Linked DNA regions of Homo sapiens: regions 1 and 2 are each linked to region 3. The links are contacts of gene promoters, found by promoter capture Hi-C in blood cells and fetal thymus (Javierre and others, 2016). All regions are on one chromosome and are shown on one strand. Each heading gives the region's core, a stretch centred on a gene start or on the middle of the fragment in contact. The rest is flanking DNA. Distances are from core to core; before and after follow the strand shown. Region 1 has its middle 190 kb from the start of ARHGAP24. Region 2 has its middle 140 kb from the start of ARHGAP24. Region 3 holds the start of ARHGAP24 (Rho GTPase activating protein 24).

Evidence for each region. Contacts are between HindIII fragments. The CHiCAGO score rates a contact against its expected background, and 5 or more counts as called.
Region 1: a contact is called between a fragment that was not itself captured here and the fragment with the promoter of ARHGAP24 in region 3, in 2 of 17 cell types (total B cells and naive B cells). The highest score is 8.3, in total B cells.
Region 2: a fragment that was not itself captured here is called in contact with the fragment with the promoter of ARHGAP24 in region 3 in 1 of 17 cell types (total B cells); the score reaches 5.4 in total B cells.

The regions. Positions count from the first base shown.
Region 1 is chr4:85,281,064-85,285,203 of GRCh38, forward strand. No RefSeq gene overlaps it. Among named protein-coding and RNA genes, the nearest start is that of ARHGAP24, 190 kb to the right of the region's middle. The HindIII fragment of the contact is 234 bases long and covers 1,499-1,732 here.
Region 2 is chr4:85,329,165-85,333,350 of GRCh38, forward strand. No RefSeq gene overlaps it. Among named protein-coding and RNA genes, the nearest start is that of ARHGAP24, 140 kb to the right of the region's middle. The HindIII fragment of the contact is 2,202 bases long and covers 777-2,978 here.
Region 3 is chr4:85,473,308-85,477,571 of GRCh38, forward strand. It overlaps ARHGAP24 (Rho GTPase activating protein 24), which reads left to right and starts at 1,843. Exons shown (of 10, transcript NM_001025616.3): 1 at 1,843-2,252. The HindIII fragment of the contact is 5,990 bases long and covers 1,133-4,264 here.

The DNA of each region.
Region 1 (4,140 bases), core at 366-2,865, 190 kb before region 3:
ACACTGAAGATGAGCTTAGTAGATAGTTATATCTGGAAAATCTTTACCTGGATGTAAAGGCCCCAAAAAGGCAATTGATTCCTTAAGGGTGAATCACGTGATCCACATGGGAAGAGAAAAATGGGTGTGAAGGCTAGGAACCACTTTGAGTTTGGCTGCTGTTGAGGAACATCAAGAATTTCTGCAATTCAGTTATTTGTATATCATAGACAGCTTCCAAGTTAAATGGTTTTATATTTTGCAACTCATCATCTAGTATTATTTAAGAAGAACTAAAGCCTCCTTTCTTCTTTCTTTTTGAACAGTTTTCATCTCAATGCCAACACATTCTGCGTGGTATTTTTGCATATGCTCAGTTCTTTTCATGTATCCCCTTCATAAATGAATTTTCTGGGCTTATTTTTACTATAAAGGCAGACTCAGATTTTCTACAATACACAGTGAGAGTAAAGTACTCTGTTCTGTACAGCTGACCCTTATTGCAAATATTTCATAATCACTGTATAACTGTTGCTTCAATTAATTCTCACATCATTCTGATGGCTATTATAATAAAGTATGTGTGCAAGTGATTTAAATATTAATAAAGAAAACCACAGTATCAAAAGAGAAGTTTCCAATTTATTTTAAGAATGTCAGCTTTTCTGGCTTTTCTCTTTTTATCACATTACATGGAAAGAATAATAGGAAAAGGCAGTTTCTCAAAAATGTAGTAGTCAAACTGGCACAGTAATATTCAAAATTATCTAGAGTAACAATGAGAGCAAATAGCTTCTACTGGTTGTGATTTACAAATTGCAATGCTTTAATGTTAACAGCCATACACAGTATATAGGATGAAGCCTTGTGAGGCCTTGAGGTTTGGAAAACATGTCATTCTTGCATTAGTGTTCCCACTGACACTCTTAATGCTAAATTTAACTTCTTAATGTATTAATGTATTTTCCTATTATAAAATTTCCTATTTAAAAGTTTGCATGGTTTATTCTCTCTCTCTCTCTCTCTCTCTCTGTGTGTGTGTGTGTGTGTGTGTGTGTGTGTGTGTTTAAAGCTAATATAATTTGGATTAAATCACCCCAAAATAAAATTTACCTGCCTCGTCTTCAGAATGCATAATGTCAGGGCTTTATTGATGTAGCTGCAGCTGAGGGGCCAAGATAGAAGGGTTTGTGAGAAAAGTCATGAAAACTAGTATTGGTGAATTTTAGCTGACCATATTCTTCACTGAAGTCTGTTCTCCAGGTTGCTTTCTAAGGCATAGGCCAACTATCCACGTACTCCTTACTTTCACAGCTGCTCTGGTACACTCTGTCTCTTGTCATTTTTCTTCTTGTAAGTCTGATTACACAGTGATAACGTTTAACGTAATAATATCAATACTTAATGATAATGGTCTGCTACCCATACCTTTCTCTTTCTACAAAAGTACACCAAAGATGATTTTTTTTACTCCTAATAAATTTGGGGAAACAAAGAATAAAAAATAGTGTAGATTGGAAGCTTTACGTGTTTCATAATCTTTAAAATTTCTATAGATTATGATGTTGGTTTTTCTGATTTGGTATTCATTAGATCTGGGATTTTTGCCTTCTACTTATACTCTTTTCAGGGAATAGCTTAGTAGCTGCCCACATTCTTCTGATTTTGCCTTAATTGGAGGCAATATCTTTGCTAGACAAAAAAAAACCTTTCCTCGGTTGGCCACACCTCAAACAAGGTGATAATACAATCAAGCTTTAAGGGCCAAATAAATTGGTGTTATTTTTACTTAAGTGAATGGTTTTCATTTCTGAGGCCTTGTGAAGTGATGAATCTGCTTAACTCATTGAAATACTCTTGTGGGAAATTGGTACTGTCATGACTGCAGTGAATCACACTTCTCTGTATCCGTGCACCTTGGCATTGTGACCCTGAAGCCCCTCTAATCAAGAGGTAAGATTTACTTCTACACCTGTTGAAACTGGGGAAGCCTAGTGACTTGCTTTGACTAATAGAATGTGGTAGAAGTGACATAGTTTAAGTACTTAGAACTTAAGAGGTCTTGTAGCACCTATTCTTAACTTATTGGAGCCTTGAAACCACCATTCTGTGAGGAACCCAGCCAAGTCCATTAGAGGGTGAGAAGCCAAATAGAAGAGAACCAGTTGATAGCGAGCACCAACTGCCAGACCTGTTTAAGTCAAGCCGTCAGATGACTGCAGGTACATGAGTGATCCCAAGTAAGACTAAAAGAACTGCTCAAATTGACAACTTACAGGACTGTGAGAATTAATATATCATTATTTTAAACTGCTAAGTTTTGGAGTGTTTTTTACATAGCAGTAGATAACCGAAACAACTCCAAAGTGGAGAACTGTCAAGAGGAATGACCCTCACTTGCAGAAAGCCCAAGACTCAGATGTAATAAAATTACTACTCCAAAGTTATAAAACTTCTTTATCTCATATTTCCTTAAAAAATTATATAAAAGTCAGGAAACAACAGATGGTGGAGAAGATATGGAGAAATATGAATGCTTTTACACTATTGGTGGGAGTGTAAATTAGTTCAACCATTGTGGAAGACAGTGTGGCAATTCCTCAAGGATCTAGGACCAGAAATACCATTTGACCCAGCAATCACATTACTGGGTATATACCCAAAGGATTATAAATCATTCAACTATAAAGACACATGTACATGTATGTTTATTGCAGCACTGTTCACAATAGCAAAGACTTGGAACCAACCCAAATGCCCATCAATGATACTGGCTAAAGAAAATCCAGCACATATACACCACAGAATACTACACAGCCATAAAAAAGGATGAGTTCATGTCCTTTGCAGGGACATGGATGAAGCTGGAAACCATCATTCTCAGCAAACTAACACAGGAACAGAAAACAAAACACTGCATGTTCTTACTAATAAGTGGGAGTTGAACAATGAGAACACATGGACACAGGGAGTGGAACATCACACACCAGGGCCTGTCGGGGGGTGGGGACTAGGGGACGGATAGCAGTAGGAGAAATACCTAATGTAGATGACGGGTTGATGGGTGCAGCAAACCACCATGGCACATGTATACCTGTGTAACAAACCTGCATGTTCTGCACATGTATCCCAGAAATTAAGTATAATTTAAAAATTAAAAAATTAAAAAGCGAAACAAAAAATTGTATTATTTATTTATTTATTTTGAGATGGAGTCTCGCTCTGTCACCCAGGCTAGAGTGCAGTGGTGTGATCTCTGCTCACTGCAAGCTCCGCCTCCCGGGTTCACACCATTCTCCTGCCTCAGCCTCCTGAGTAGCTGGGACTACAGGCACCCACCACCACGCCCGCCTAATTTTTTTGTATTTTTTTAGTAGAGACAGAGTTTCACCATGTTAGCCAGGATGGTCTTGATCTCCTGACCTCGTGATCTGCCTGCCTTGGCCTCCCAAAGTGCTGGGATTACAGGCATGAGCCACTGCGCCCAGCCATAAAAAAATTGTATAATTTTTATATGCATATGTCATTCCATCAGGTATTTATTTTTATAATCCAACAATATTTGCAATTTTATATTCTGTTGAATGCTATACCTATGTTTGTTTTGATCAGAAATACATTTAAAAATTTTGTTACCATTAATGCTCAAGCAAGATGTGTTTTATTTACCCTGTGGAAGCATAACCTCTGGCATATCACTCTGTACCCCAGTTTGAAGAGTAGTTTTTCTAACATATAGTTATTGAACTGCAAAGTGTTGAAAAAGGAGGCAGTTTTAACTGTCCATCCCTTGTAGTTTTGCCTGAATGCTGTTTCTTTCATCATTTGTGATGAACTCTCCTGCAGTTTCTCCTCTGTATCCTTGAAGAAGAATAAAAGTCATAGTTATCTGATTATAAGCATATTCATGAGAGACCCCAGTGAGAGCCTCTAGACTTGGTTTTGGTCAGTTCTCTACAGACCTAAGGTTTTGTTTTTTGTTGAGAAAAAATGTGATCTCTTCATTTTGTTTGCTAGAAAAAAATTAGTGGTTGCCTGGCAACCAGTTGCCCATCAGCTTCCTAAAGCAGGAGAAGTTGCTAGGTAAATCATTTTACTCTTTTTTTTTCCAGAAAAGGCTGGACTTAACAGATTCTAGGGTCTGAAAAATTATCCTGGAAG
Region 2 (4,186 bases), core at 628-3,127, 140 kb before region 3:
ATTTAAGCAATAAGACAATTATTCTTAAGCAAGGTCACCCAACATAACTCTTCCTTTCCCTATAATCTGCCTGCAAATATATGCTAAATGATAACAAATAATAAGTAAAAACCTTCTATGAAACTCCTTTTTTTAAGGAATCACACTTGTTTACTCTTTTGATAAGCATGTTTCTCTAATTTATTTAGGGAGACATTATGTCCTTTGTCTGCAAAAACAATTAAAAAGAAACATATAATGTTATTTTACCAGGGGTCAAGTTCTAATTGGATTTTACCACGATAAAAAATATAATTCATGGCCAGGCATCGTGGTTCAGGCCTGTAATCCCAGCACTTTGGAGGCTGAGGCAGGCGGATCATGAGGTCAGGAGATCGAGACCATCCTGGCCAACATGGTGAAACCCCATCTCTACTAAAAGTACAAAAATTAGCTGGGCATGGTGGCACGTGCCTGTAATCCCAGCTACTCAGGAGGCTGAGGCAGGAGAATCACTTGAACCCGGGAGGCAGAGCTTGCAGTGAACCAAAACGCACCACTGCACTCCAGCCTGGGGACAGAGTGAGACTGTGTCTCAAAATAATAATAATAAAAATATATAAAATTCATTTTCACCGAGGCCCTAAAATTGTATACCAGGGAAAAATCAAAAGACTGGGAATGTTCTTTTGTTGCCAAGAAGGAACTCTGGATTAAAAATTCCCCCAAGTAGCTTAGTTATAGTCAGGAAATCCCTTTCTTCTAATCCTATCCTTAACCACCATGCTAGAAACATAAGCTTCAGGGCCCAGAACCACTTGCATCACCGAATATTTAAACATTTCAGCCAAAAGTTTTAAAAAGTGTGTATAACAACTAAATATTGCTTGAACTTAACATTTCATAGGAAATCAGCCTATGTGACCACTTTACAAGTTCTATTTCTTGATTTATCCTAAAATTTGTATTTTATTATTATTTTGCAAAATAAAATATGGAATCTTCCCTTTCCTTTGTAGCTAGGAGGAGATGACATGGAGGTTGAGGACATGGGGTGGTGAGAGAGGTTGAGGAACCCCACGGAGGCAAGGGCCCAGAGGAGGAAGCTGTGTAGAGATGGAGAGCTGTCATAACTCAATGATACAACCCATACTACAGCACTCAGCAATGCAGTCTTTGACCAAATGTAATCCCTCCATAAAATGTGAGATTTTATTGGGGTTTTTGGAGGAGGCATCCAGAGAACAGCACCCTTCTTTTCCACCTGGATTCTTAAAAAGTAGTTGGGAAATAAATCAAAAGTAGCAAATGGGGGAAAAATATTTCTTTTTGTTTGTTTGTTTTCTACTAATAGAGGCCAGACTGAGCATGTGGTTTTAGGTTTGGTAGCCAAATAAATTCGGTAATTCTGAAGCCCAGGATGGATTTGATTTCTTGGCCCAGTGAAAGAAGGAAGGGACCATGGCAAACAAAGACCCAGAGGAGGGGTAGAAGTCATGGTGCTCAGGAGCAGCTCGCTTCCCAGATCAAGAAGAAATGATGCTTGCCATGCATATTCTAGTTTATTCTCCCCAGATTTACCAATCACATCTCTACCTCTCACGGGACTATGTAAAGTGTGGAGAGAGGCTAGGCCTATGCTGAAGAATAATCCTTCCTCATGTCCACTCCAAGTGGGGAAACATTATTCCCCTCTAAAATTGATTTACATAGGGAGGGAGGAACCAGGTCATAATGAACTTTCTATAATATAGCAGGATTTAGATTGTAAAGGAAAGGCAATGGGTACTTATTAAATAACTTTTTTAAGAATAGAGGCAAGAGAAACAGATTTGACTTTCAGAAAAATTATTCTGGAATGGTACACTGTAGAGGATCAATGGGAATGGGGCTTGGGGAAAAGAACAAGAGGGTCATTTAGGAGACTCCCCCCATCTTAGCTAGGATTATGAGAATCTCAGTTAAGATAATTGCTAAAGGATTAAGAAAAGTATTCTGATTTGGGCATGTACAGTGTAACTATAGGATCATGGCAATCATCAAAAATCAACTCACACAATTCACTGATTTTTTGTAACCTGTACACTGAGTCTTTTGCTATAAATATAGATTGATATTAAAGTGTGACTATTACTAGGCTAGCTTCAGTTTCCTGAATAGAAATAGATAAAGATAAAATATTATTCAGTGTGCCTCAGAGTACTGTATAAATGAGTAACAAAAAGGGACATAATAAAACACACTGATGTTGGAAATATTTTAATCCTTGAGTTGACAGTTATAGAGGGTTGACACTTGAGTTGCCTGTGTTGTCACGTCTTCCATCTGATGTGATTCTTAGGGTGGCCTTTTTGTGTATAGACCCCATAGTTTAATTAATGCTTGTGGTCATGACACCTGTCAGCAGACATTGATGAGACTCTCATAATGGATACACTAAATACATGCAAATTATTTCTTATTTGCAGAGAAAACATTTCAAAACTCATTTCTATCATTAAAACAGGTAGTCAGAGATTAAGACAGGATACCCCAGTCTGTTACTATTTATTTCTTTTTTTTATTATTATACTTTAAGTTTTAGGGTACATGTGCACAAAATACATAATTATAATTTTCATAAAAACAATCTATGTAAAAACTAAAAAATACAGAAAAGTATGAAAACATAGAGAAGAAAGTATAAAGAATAAAAAACAACATGATTCCATTTCACAACCAAGGAATAACCAACATTTGATAACATTTCAAACATCTTTCTATCCTTGTGTACAGATAGGTTTTAAAGTTATTTTTTGAAAAATAAAGGCATTAGAATATACACTCAATTTATAAGCATTAAATTTAATTTTAATCCCATTTAACAGAAGTAAAATTCTCTGAAATTTAAAGTAATTGCTGAATTACCTGAAGCAAAAGACTTTGGATAAATGTTTCTCTAAAACAAGAGGAAGTGCTTACATTTTAATATATCTCCCTGAAGCTAAATAAATGCATGAAGCTTATAGCACTCTTTATTTCTTTGTTTGTTTACATTTAAATATGTGCTTCCACATTAGACCGTGCTATAAATGTGAATAAATTAATTGGCAGGTTCACAATTTTGTCTACTTCCTTGCTTGGGATTATATGTATCCTGCCTTTTCTGCCAATCCCTTATAACTTTTTAAATCCTTGTAGTTTTGCAACTTTTCTAAATATATCTTGGAATTGTTCATTTTTTGTCAAATTTTTATATCAAATATTCCAGAGATATATTCTAACTTTGATAATTGTCTACATTTTTTTTTGGTGGTACATGGCGATCATCAATTTCAATCTTTCAGTTCCATTTTTGTTTCCTTATCTTTTCTTCTATATTTTTGAATTTTTTCCCCTGTTCCATTTGTTTTGCTGTCTGCACTATGAACATCAATTATATATCAGATCGCTTTATCTCTTTTGCATACCTATCATTTTCTCAGTAATTATTTTATTTTGTGTGACATTTTTATGCCTAGATTATTTTTTGTCCATGGTTTCTTCTATTTCTTTCTGAGCTCTTTCAGCTTGATATTTCATTTTAAAAGAGATATTGTGCTGTTTGAATTATTATTTATAATTACAGTGAATGATTTGTCTAAACTCTTCATTTCTGTATGAGTTTTTCTTCTCTCTCTCTCATAGTCATTTTTGAAGTTTTATGCTTAAGCCCTAGTATGATTCCTTTCTGTTTATTTCTCATTTTTGATGAGACCAGTTATCTGCTGGAAAATAATGAAAAGAGGTATGGAAGAAGGGGGTACTGAAGAGACTCGTGCATTTAGACATGAGACTTTTGTGTTGTTCTTTTGACTGAAAAGAAAAATTTGGGAGCAGATTGCTACTGCAGGCTCCAGGAGGCAGCTGAAAAACTGTGAGTGCCTAAAGTGTGAAAGGGGGATCATCTACTCCTGAACACACACCCTCACTGGGGAACCTGAAGATTGAGATCACAGGAGATGGATTTGATCTTACGTGGACCTGAGATGAATTTAGAGAGCTGGGCAAAATATAGAGGTAGAGGAAGCAGCGAGAAGGACCTTGTGGGCACTCTAGACCTCCAGGGAAGCCATTTCTTACTTTATCTCACAGGAGTCCTTGGGGAGGGCTGCCACTGGAATTGGGGAAAGACTAAATGCAAAGTTTCCTGGACAGAACCTGGGGGAGAAGGTGAGCTGGGAGTGTA
Region 3 (4,264 bases), core at 593-3,092:
TTGGAAAGGGTGGAGACAGAACCAGAAGATGGGAAGGAAAAGGCCTTGAACACAGCCTGTGTGTGTATTAGAGGTGTGTCTTAATCTTTTGGACTAGGGACTACCCAGTAACCACCCTGAGTTCAGTTTTGTATCACTTTGAGACTAAACTGCTGTGGTAATATTTGTTAGACCCTGAAATAAATTACTGACATGACAGTTTCCTTGTTTTTTTAAATGTCCCCATCTTGAATCATAATTATTGGTACTTGTCTTCCTGAGGCTTTTGAGTCCATCAAATGTGTGCAAATTTCATTTGGGTTAATGTTATTTTCCAGCTTTCATCTGAAACTGCCCATCAGCATTCACCTGCTAGGGTGTTGCTAGAACATGTAAGGCCATGTGGGTTGATGAAGGTAATTTATTCCCACCAATTGGAAAATAAGCTACATTACTTCTAGCTTAGGAATTCCATACATATTTTTAAAATGAAATATGAAACGCAATTTTTTCCCCACACAAATTAATTTGATTCATTAAAGGGCTGAGAATTCTCCCACCAGAAAATCAAGTTTATAGTAGGACCTCAGCATGGGATGGGGTAGATTCGTTTCTCCAAGAACTTGGAGAAAGAGGACAAAAAGGAAAAACATATCAGTGTCCACTCAGCCTTTTATTTTTGGTGTTTCTAAAACTAAACATTTGCTCTTCTTCCATATCCCTCTCTCACTGGAGATCCCTAGTGAGGACACCCCCATTCTGTGTCTTAAGGATATCTGGTGATGATTTCTAAAAGAGAGTTTCTTTTATTAGTAGTAGCAGTAGTAATTGTTCGAGACGGGGGTGTCACTCCGTCACCTAGGCTGGAGTGCGCTGGCACAATTATAGCTCACTGCAGCCTTGACCTCCTGGGCTCAAGGGATTTTCCCGCTTCAGCCTCCTGAGTAGCTGGGACTACAGACATACGCCGCCACGCCCAACTTTTTTTTTATTTTTTTAATTTTTTTTTTATAGAGACAGGAGTCTCATTATGTTGCCAATTTTGGTCTGAAACCCCTGGGCTCAAGCGATCCTCCTGCCTCAGCCTTCCAAAGTGCTAGGATTGCATGACTGATCCACTGTAAGTGGGTTTCTAAAACAGAGATCTTTACAAAGCTTTTTGAAATAATTTGACTCAGCATGCCAGGTAACCAGAACTGTAAGATCACAATTTGAAACAGACATTGTGGTGATGGTGGGAAGAGACGGCCTGCATCAAAACAATGTTTACTAGTTTGTCCTTTTGTCCCATATTGTGTAACTCCGAGAGTTCTTACACCACCGTAAGAAAGTAATTATACTTTGAATTTCTCTAAGGCTCTAGTTAGAGAGCATCCATCTAAATGTGCATTTCCAGGAATATTGCTTTAATGGCCCAGGTAATTCTAATTGGAGAAATAAAATGTTAGCGAGACAGAGTTGGTAGAAGCAAGTAAAACCGGTGTATGGGGTTTGGCCAATGAAATGCAGAGCTCCTTGAGGGCAGGAGACATGTATTCACCAACCTTCTCGCGCCCACAGCCCCAGATCTGTGGCCAACAAGTATCTATGATGCACTTGAAAGGAACGAGCGATGCCAGATGCGGAGGAACCAGGCAGGGCGCATTCTGTCAGTGGCGCCAGGCGGTGTAGCTCCAGCTCTCAGATAACCCAGGCTTTGGGAGGGCGGGGCTCCTGCCGGCCTCCCCTGTAGTGCGGCTCGAGTCCTGTGAAGCTACCAGTTGCCAAATGAAATCTGAAACCTCGAGCTGTGTCTGAGGGTTGGCCCCACTCAGTTGTTCCAGCCTCTTGTACTGTATATTTACACATTCACACACAATCACCCTTTCTAACTTCTGGGACTCTTTGCGCAACTGCTAGGATTTCTCAAGTGCATGTGGCAACACAGCCCAGCTCCGGGTGGAAACCAGCAGGGCTCTGGAGGGGCTCGGAGACCAGGGGAGCTGTCAAGGCTGCGGCGGGGACCAGAGAGGAGCCTGGCGGGGGTGGCTGGGTGGCTGGGGGAATCCCCCCAACTTCCCATCGCAGGCGCAGCTCTCTCGGCCGCCTATTTCCTCCGAAACCCGCGCTGCGGAGCAGCCCAGTGCATAGAGTTCAACACTTCCCCTTGTTGTGGAAAGTAAAGGAGCCTCACTACCACCTTTTTTTCTTTGCGTTTTCTTACTGCTGGTCCTGGGAGCCTTTTCCTTCGGAGCAGCAGCCCTGTCCGGCATCTGTCTTGAGCTCCCAGCAAGGTAGGTGATGCGGTCGCGAGGAAGTGCGCGGAGCTACCGCGGGAAGGACGGACGCGGCTGCCTGCGCCAGGGGAGGGGGCTGCGGGGGGCGGGGAGGGGGCTGCGGGGGGCGGGGAGGGGGCTGCGGGGGGCGGGGAGGGGGCTGCGGGGGGCGGGGAGGGGGCTGCGGGGGGCGGGGAGGGATCGCAGGAATCCCGTGCTGATGTAGCCTGTCTGTGTTTGTGTGTGTGTGTGCGCGCGCGCGCATGTTTGTGCCGGGAGACAGCAAGCTGGTAGTATGTCTTTCTGGCTTTAAAAATAGATGGAATTAATAAAAACCCTTTGTACAATTCAATTTCCTCTCTTGGTATCCATCCTCCCCTTCCCCTTGTTTGTTTCCTCTAGTATCTTATAGGAGTTCCCTATGTAACAGGCGCACAAAGATAGGTTTTAATAATAAGCATATATATTTGCAAAAATATATATTTTATATGTATAAAATATGTTTTAAAATATTTATAAATATATTACATATTAGAAATATATATTATAAAATATATACATATATTTGTAAACACAAAACGTTAGGGAATCTTTGGTGAATTTGAAGCCACTCAAAAGATTTTGTCCAAATGTTTTTAAAAATAACATTTAATGATAAACATGTAATATGGTCTCGTTTTTAGAAAATACTTAAGACTACATTTATTTTATACGTACCCAAATAGAAGGGAGACAATGTTACTCTGAATTCCTTAGATAGATTTTCAGCATCAACCAGTAATAGGGAGCCCAGACTTCTTTGTAGACTATATCTCGTTTAATTCATTTGAATTAAACAAGTAATTTCTCCAAGTAATTTCTGTTTCCAGCACATTTTATGTTACTCTTTTTTTAACCTTCCACGGCATCATTGTTTCATCTCTTTCTAAAAAGGAAATAAATAAATCGTGCTGAGTATTTGGAATATAAAAGTTGTTAAGGCTTTGCTTATACATAAATACATAAATAAAACAATATGTGTTGCTATGTCTACTAAGTAAGACAAATTCATTGGAATCCAGGGATATTTGCAGTAGAGTTTAAGAGCTTTACTCAGTTACTGAGTAGAAGATGTACAGACGGATTAAATACAAACAATCTGTCCCCAGTTCCAATTAGAACTCAAAACCAATCCTTCAGGGCAAAAATGGATGACGCTATTGAACTGGGCATTGTAAAATAAAACACACAGAATGTATGTATTAGAAAAAGCCAGAAAACAGCCATAAAGTCACATCAGACTTGTGAAGATCTCACTCCCCCTTTTAAATTTCTTAATTCTTCCTCTTTTCTGGGCATATTTCAACTTGTAAGAGAGCTCAGTAATAAAAGTTACCATTTTATCTTCCCTGACTGCCTGGCCTTCAGGTAGCAAGTCCAGAAATCTGTTCTCTCTAGAGCCATTACTTAGTGGTCAGAGACTTCACCTTTGACATCTTGGAGGACGGAAATATTGACAAAACTCTGAAATAAATAACATCCTACCATTCACAGGCAGTATATTCTTGGTGGAAGACCTTTAAGTGGGGATAAGAGATAAACTGAGTTTTTCAGATCTGGAATTTAGTTTGAGGTATTTGGAAGGAATATAAAAGAGGTATGGTACTAGGAAAAATAATCGGTAATTCTTTCTGCATGTGGAGGGGCTGTTGAAACTCAGACTGTCCTTGGCTTTCAACTATATTACTTGGTTTTATTACTTCATCTCAGGGGTTTGGATTTGAGATGAGGTGGTTTCTCTGTAATATTCTTCTGTGCCTTACATACCCTGAATCTGAACTATTTTGAAAATATAAGCCTGATAAGAAGTGGGAAAGAATTAAGTTATCTAGAAAAAAATCCACTGCAGAACAAATGGCAATGCATTCTTCCAGACTAGAACATAGATTTAAGTGTAAAAGTGTTTTTGGGTGAAATCCCCAGGGAAATCCTTTCAGCTTTTGCTGGGGATAGTAATGGCCAAAGCTCTGAGAGCTTTCATGGATCATGGT